Linked DNA regions of Homo sapiens: region 2 is linked to region 1. The links are contacts of gene promoters, found by promoter capture Hi-C in human tissues and cell types (Jung and others, 2019). All regions are on one chromosome and are shown on one strand. The core of a region is centred on a gene start or on the middle of the fragment in contact, and the rest is flanking DNA. Distances in the headings are between cores, read along the strand shown.

The links. Contacts are between HindIII fragments. The study calls those that stand out against the background at their distance.
Region 2: a fragment that was not itself captured here is called in contact with the fragment with the promoter of BLID in region 1 in 3 of the 25 tissues and cell types used here (aorta, hippocampus and liver).

The regions. Positions count from the first base shown.
Region 1 is chr11:122,114,263-122,118,227 of GRCh38, forward strand. BLID (BH3-like motif containing, cell death inducer) reads right to left here and starts at 1,953. Exons shown (of 1, transcript NM_001001786.3): 1 at 1,078-1,953. The coding sequence starts at 1,660. The coding sequence ends at 1,334. The region is part of intron 4 of MIR100HG (mir-100-let-7a-2-mir-125b-1 cluster host gene); the gene reads right to left. The HindIII fragment of the contact is 11,140 bases long and covers 1-3,965 here.
Region 2 is chr11:122,154,868-122,158,832 of GRCh38, forward strand. It overlaps MIR100HG (mir-100-let-7a-2-mir-125b-1 cluster host gene), which reads right to left. Exons shown (of 5, transcript NR_137179.1): 4 at 684-765. Among named protein-coding and RNA genes, the nearest start is that of MIR100, 4.5 kb to the left of the region's middle. The HindIII fragment of the contact is 4,853 bases long and covers 1-3,965 here.

The sequences.
Region 1 (3,965 bases), core at 703-3,202:
TCCATGAAGGATCTCTATATGGTAAAGAAAAGAGAGGATGACATACTTCCCATGGTTTCTAGACAGCAGATTTCTTTACGCTGAAACCTGTGCTTCACCCACAATGCTGGACTCAGAACTACACGAACCTAAGCGTATTCTCTTATGATTTGGCCAGCCATCTTTGAGAACCGCTAAGACAATTTGGCAAACAGTCCTTCCACTGTTTTCCAACACACTAGAATATAAGGAAAGTTTGTTTCTTGTCAGTTTTTTCTACCTCAAAAGATCCCAGGCATGATTAAGTTTTTGCCTTTTCTTTCTCTTTCTCTTTTCTTTCTTCTACAGAAAATTCTTTACTTTAACAGCTTCAGGATCACTGATGCAATTTAGGAGTTTCTCCGATGCAATTGAGAAATGCAAAAGGGAGGTTCTATAGGCAGGGTCTTTTCTGCCTGGAGCTTTTAAGATCACTGAGGAAAAATAACTCAGATTCTCACTCTTTCTCTCCTCCCAGCTTCTGAGCTGCCCTGCGGGCTCAGTTCTCACTGTGGGTAGGTATGGGTCAGGGTAGTGGAAAGAAAGCAGAGAAGGGGACACTAGAATAGCTTAAAGTAAAAGCTCTGAAACACCTTTTCCATTTCCTTTTCCTTTTTTCCCCACAGATTTAGTTCTACTCACTCTAATAACAGAGTTCATAAAAGATTACTGGAATTTCTATTTCTTTCAGTTCCACAGGTTTTTTTTTTTGTAAAGGGAAAGAAAGGTTAGACTTATTTACAACACAATGACAATCTCTGATTCTTCACTTTAAGCAAATAAAGACGCCTAGTGAAATAAATGGATTGTGTTATTTAAAATTGAAAGCTTATGTGAACCACCACTCAGAAACATGCTTAAAAAATACAGAAAGAAAATGAAAACCCTGTGACTACACAAGATTATTCTGATGCCAAATGCTGAGTGTACAACTAAGTAGAGTAATTGTTAATAATATGACAAGTACCTACTTCCAATGTACAAATGAAATACACTCAAAACTGCAAAGGACAGTGGCACTGTACGCTGCCCTAAGGTTTACCATCACATAGCTTTTTGTTTTTTCATGAATTTGCAAGATTTGTTTTAATTAAATGCCATTTACTTTTAACTAGCCAGTTTATCCTTTTTAAAAATTTTATTGTTTCTCTGCACAATTTGAACCAAATTTGGAAAAGTTATGGGTAAAAGTGGGTAGAAAAGACTGTTAAGAATTGGGTCTTATTGAAATCAAGTTTCCTTCTGTGTTGTGCAGCCTGAATAATGGGCGAAATCTGTCCTAATATCTTGCTGCATCTGTCCTAACTCACTCCTTTTACAGGGCCTCAGCAGAGGAATTGCATAACAATGTAACTTGTATCCTGGTTAAATAGGAAGGTCTCTGAAGCACATGTCCAGGAACATTCCGCTTCATGGCAGAGGAGCCAAGATTGTACCTTTTAAGAGAAAGCACTGTTTCCTTAGGCAACATAGGTTCTTTGTTGGAACCCAAGAGCGCCTCCAGTGGCAGGCGTGCTTTTGCCTCTGGATAAATGGAACTGCCAGAGGCTCGCTCTATCCATCCTGTGTAGAGCACACACTCAGATTCTAGGATCTCAAAGAAATGTATTTCCTGGCCCTCTATAGGCAACAAAGTCACCATAATTTGAAGCTATTATGGAAGAAAGTCCAAAATTTAACTTCCATTCGCTTTATTCAGCAAGTTTTTATAAGGCAGATCTCATATGGACTATGCTTTGCATAAGCACGGTGTTAGATGGGAAGAAAAAAGTGGTGGGATCCTTCCTCCTCTTCCTTTCTTCCCAGCTCCTGCTATTCATGGAATTTCCCTTGATTTCAAGTGGCTACTCACCAAAATCCTCAACTGAAAACAGCTTCCAAGGGGTCATGTACTTATTCAATTCTCTTCTCTCTTTTCTCCAAACACAACATCATCTGACCAAGGTTTGCATGCATAAGCATTGCTAATTAACGATAAGTCTCCACGATGTCCTCCTCTCAGTAAGTTTGACACACAGACCTCAGCGAAGCTGTATGTACTGCCTAAAAGTAGGAAAGATCTCCACGTTGATTTCTGAATTGTAAAAGGCAGGGATATGTTTTGGACTTCTTGTCCCTTACTGTGAACAGACCTAAGAGTACTTACTTTATTTTTTAGAAAGAACCCGGAGCTGCTGATGTCTGAGGGAGTCGTTTCAACAGAGACTAGAATATCGAGAGAGAAAATTGATCCAGCTCTCTTGTCTGGTGCTTATAAAACATGAAAGTATCACCCTCGCCATGGCAGACCACAGGGAATGATCAGTGTGAATTGTTAAGTCCTCTTCTCAGTGATGCTTGCAAGCAATTTCCCTGGGGAAGCAACAAGTTCCTGACCACAGTGTTGTACACAAATAAATAAACAAAATGCTATTACTTTTTGTTCTTCACATTGGGAAAAGTTCAGAAACATCTTGTTTCAATTGATGGGCTGGAATTACAGAAACATTTTAATTTTGTCTTTCCTTGCTAGTTCTGTGCCTGAGATGTATTGGTAAAATGGAACATGAGTCATATTTCTAATTGGGAAAAGCCTGGTAATCATGGGCAACCCAGATCTGGGTGACTTACAGAGTATTTTTGTGTTGAGAGAGAAAAGACACTAAAAGTAGAAGTTTCTTACTTAGCAGCAGCAGAGAGGCTATAAGATTGAATCTGGTGTTTCACATGGCCTGTATCATGGTATAATGAGAAGGAATGTGTCTTGCACAAATTAGCCTATAGACCTTTCTAATCAGGACCAATATGTGACATATACAAAGGCAAGATCAGCTGTAAGGAAGGATTCACTCCTTTACCACCAAGCCATGGAGACTGCTTGAGTCATCATGGCCTTGGTCTCTTGATTTCCCTTATGTTATTTGAGTAGAAACTCAGGCACCAATGATGCCCCCAGTTAACCATAACCATAATGGTAGCATCCAATACCATTTTTAAAAAAGTCAGGGTTGTAGACAAAAGACTGATGTAGACCAGTGGAGAAGACAAGAGGGAGTTATGCAGCCTACTCTGAGAGCAAAGTCTGGTTTGGATCTTCTCTGCTACTTTTGTACATTTCATGCTAGAGGCAGAACAAGTATCCAGGGAACACTTTGGAACTTTCCTAAATTTACAGAGGGGCCTGTAACATTCAATTAGGGGGAACACAGAATGTTCTACTCTAGCAAAATTTATAGGTAGTATAAGAAATTCCATCAAGTGTCTTGTGGAAAACTGAATGCATAAAAGTAAGGATGTGGATAATGGGATCATTCAATATAGATTTCAAACCAAAGTCCGCTGCTTAATAACTCTGAACTTGGGCAGAGTACTTAACCTTACTGAACATCAGATTCTTTATTTGTAAAATGGGGACCATAATATCTTCTTTGCTCAATTATTTGGGGGATTAATGAGGGAAGGAATATAAATTATCACAAGATCTGGTATATAGTAAGAACTTTGCAATGTTTTTTTCCTCTCTTTATTGATGAATGCTTTCCAGATTTCTATTTGGCCTCTTCTCTTTGAGTTTATAGAATACTAATTTTCTGTACTTTGTGGCAAATCTATTCAATTTAACAGTTTTTAAAATTTATTATAATGTGAGACATGGAATATGAAGAATAAATAATGCATACCATTTTTATAAAAGAGACTCATAATCTACTGAGAAAGCTAGAAACATGCTGGGTCACTATACATTAGACAAGGTTAAGTGGAATAATTTGGTTATTTAAACATTTGGGAGAAGGGGTGATCTAATTATATACCAGGCACCATACAAGGTGGCAAAGACCCAAAGATGTATAAGATGCAATTATTGAACTCCAGGGCCCTTAATTTTTTTTCTTTTTCTTTTTTTTTTCTTCTTCTGGTTTTTTTTGTTTGTTTTGTTTTGTTTTGTTTTGTTTTTTATACAAGAGTCT
Region 2 (3,965 bases), core at 894-3,393, 41 kb after region 1:
CGAGTAATGTAACTTATAAAGCAAATATATAATTTATGTTATTAAACATTTTTAGGTGGCATAAAGCCCTTCAATGACACTAAAAGGAAACTGCCTGTATCATGAAAGCTAAGATCAAATCCTACTCACTGAATATATGCATGGGAATAGTTTCATAAAGTGCCATATAGTATTGCCAATCTATGACTAAAGTAAAAAAAAAAATCAATATTGTTATTATGTAATTTATATAAGCTCTATCTTCCAGGAATTCAGAACACATGGTAGGCTTTTTAGAGCCAATCCTGTAATACTTATATTTTTTCATTCAAATGCCCAAGATAGCGACAGAGTTAAGGGGCAGTGCCTGCTAGTTTCAAATGCTTATGATTGCTCAGAGCCTGCTGGTGCTGTGAAGTTTGGCAAAACAGAATTTAGTTGTAGCTCTATGGCTTAATTTTCAAATCCAAAAAACCAAGTGCTGTTCAGTAATAAATTTCTAAAAATTTTCCAAACTCCATAGAGTTGAATGTCATGCCTGCTCTACTCCTTGGCTAGGAAAATTATAAAACTGGTTTCTTTTTTAAAAAATTAAGTTTAAAATGTAGTTATTCTTCATAATTAAATCATTCAAGCATGCCCTAAAAATTTGCAATACTTGAGGAAGCGAAAGGTTTGGGAAAATTACAGAAAAACACCATTACCTGAAAAAGGTAACTTCTTATGTAAAATTTTAAACCTGCTTCCATCTTGTTAGGCTAATATCTTCAAATCATCCACGCGCGTCTGGAAAATAAGACATTTACAATATTTTAAAATGGGTTAAGAATTTTTACTTGTTTTTCAGTTGTTTTTTTTTTTTTTTTTTTTTGCCACCCAACTCTTTTGTAAAGTTGAAAGTAACACTAGAACAAGAGTAAAAAGAAAAACAAAAACTGAAATAAAACTATTTCTAGAAAAACATCGGGAACCATTATGTTTACTTCATTTCCAGAACTACGCATAATAAATAGGTTCTGCAAATAAGTAATTTCACAAATCTTTCCTGGAATTCCCCTGGCTACGCTTGGACCTTGAGAACAATTTTACCAGAAAAATGATCAAATAGGAATGTGAAGTCTCGGAATACTCCCATACTTTTGTACAAATGTTTTATACCAAACCACTCACTTGCTAAGCATGATGAAGAGATAGGCTATCTATGGTTAAGAATAGTTTAAGGAATAATCAATGAATTGGGCAGTGATTACCTGGCATGATGCAGCGCCATTGAGACATCATTTTAACTTTTTTACTGTCAAATGATTCAGGAGTCATTATTTCTCTCGGCTGATAGGGCTGTTAAAAAGAAGCAAGTATCCGATTGTGGTGGACTCATGAGTCTATGCCTCTCCACCACAGCAGGATTCCTGGCTTCCATTCCAGTGTCCTTTCATTGGCCATGTTTTGGACGCGGGGTTCGCCTTCCCTTCATTGTCCCTTTACTAATGGAAGGCGAACTCACAGTGCAGCTGCTTGCAAAAAGGAAAATTTATTTGAGTTTTGCCTGGCTGTGGACTTGAACACTGAATCCATGGTGACATCAGCAGAACGACACCAACGGAAAGATTTCCTGCCCTCTACCCCCCTTCCTTTTTAAAAATGTACGTCTTGTACAAAATCTCAGTGGATCTCCTTTGTCCCAAACAGATGGGACAGTTTGACCAGATAATATTTTTTATCTGGGAAGGACAGGAGGAAGGAAGGAAGGAAGGAAGGATGGAAGGAAGGAGAAAAAAAGAGAAAAGAGAGCGGCACAGAGAGAGAAAAGAAAAAAGAGAGAAAAAGAAAAAGAGCCAGAGACAGAGAAAGGAAAGAAAGAGCAAGATAGAGAATAAAGAAAAAATAAAGAGAAGGAAAAAAAGGAAAGAATAAGGAAAGGAAGGAAGGAAGGAAAGAGAAAGAAAGAAGGAGAAAGAAAAAGTAGGAAGAAAGGAAAGAAAAGAAAGAGAAACAGAAAGAAAGAAAGAAAGAAAGAAAGAAAGAAAGAAAGAAAGAAAGAAAGAAAGAGAAAGAAAGAAAGAAAGCTTGTTCAAATCTAACCTTTGTCGTTCACTCTGACAGTGGGTGTCCCCTGAAGCAGGGGAGACACTAGTGTTTGGTCTCCTACAGCTTTTCAGTTTTTCTGATCGTTTCTCTCATCCTTTGCAGTCACTGGTTTTTGCCAAAAGATCCAATCACCTCAACAAAAGAGGCACATCCAGCAATTGCTACTCCAAGAGTAATTCATTGGTGCCAATTGTCGTGCCACGTTTTATCCACCTGGGACATTGCCACAAGGATATCAGACCACAGAGTGGGAGCAGCGCTCAAGGATATGACGCAGAGGCTTTTGGCATCAAAACCAGTTAGCTTAGGTAGAACTCATTCCTTTTTACAAGGAAAAACTGGCCAGAAGGCAGTAGGGAGCGAGGAGAATGGCAAAGCAATGCCATGGCTTTCATGTTTCTTTCGAGCAAATGGAACACTGAAGATTGATGGATATTTATAATCTTCATCTCACCACACCCTGCCCACACTAAACAATATTTTATGAAAATGATAAATGCAAGTGTGTGTAGATCAAGCAAAGAGAAAAGATGGAAAATGGTATAATAGAAGATAGATCGGATGAAAACAAAAGACACTCTTAGACTATTTGAATAGTGAGCTTACTTTTCTGTAATTAAAAAAATCTTAAACCCACTTAATATTCACTTAAAACAGGCATATAACAGAAATCAACTATTTGAGAGTGAGAAATTGATGGCAAATTCACTTTTGACACACTAGATGAAACAAAAGAGAGACTTTGCCAGTACCAAGTTGTATCGTGTGCGCTGGCTAAGGTATACTACTTTCACTTTTGAAAGGAATAAGTTTGCTCAGGATGACAATTTTTCTTCCTTTTTAAAATGCAAACAATGATGCCAGCCTACAACTTCCTTTCTAGCTATTTTGCTAATAAAGCAGGGGAGGAGAATTGAAATTTGAAAAAATAACAAGACCTTGATTCTGACATAGAAACATCAGACACGTACTTTTAAAAATCAGATGACTGTCATCTCTTTAATAGAAGTGAACTATATGCTATATAAATGCTTCCTAGACACCAGCCAACTTTAACACTTTCTGTTCAAAGCTATGTTTTGCTCTTGAGAAAGTATCTCACAATTAGATGAGAAAGTGGGTGGATAGGATGGCTTGGGAAGATTTGAAGATTGAATCCTGCAAGAAAAGAGATACATAATATGTAAAGAGTGAGTATTTCTTGAGGGTTTTGACCGCATGACAATGGAGTCTTGTTCTGGGAAAGTTATAGAGGAGCCTGGAACGTCCAAAATGATACTTATAAAAAAAAAAAAAGCAACCTTCAAACCCAAGAAAAGATGTTCAGCTGAAACAGAAAGACCTTTTTTCTTACTCCAGGGTGCAGATCCACTCAGAGGAAAAGTCACACACCCCTGTCTCTCTGCATTTCACCCAGCAGGTCAGCGTTTCTCCACCTAGGGCTCTCCATGTCTATTGATTTCCACATGTCTCTCTTTGTTTGGAACAACAACCAACCAACTAGAAGACGATTTTATATACTCTTCACCAAATTGAAGTTGGGAAAGAAAAAAAGTATTAGACTATTTTCCTTACTTCTCGCTCTCAACTTGTCCCAAATATTGATCTGGTTATTTTGCTTTCTAGCCCTCCATCAACCTCCTAACTCTTTCTCTCTCTCTCTCTGTCTCTCTCTCTCTCTCTCTCTCTCACACACACACACACACACACACACACACATACATACATACACACACACACACAACTGCTGCTTGATCCAATCTGGTGCCTGCTTAACAACAAGAGAATGACAAGCAACATCTGTTTGTAAAAGAGCCAAAGTCAAACCTTAACGTTTTTTTGGCTAGGTTTCTTTTTTCCTTTTTCCCCAGACTCTAAAATGGGAGGGGGCAGAAAGA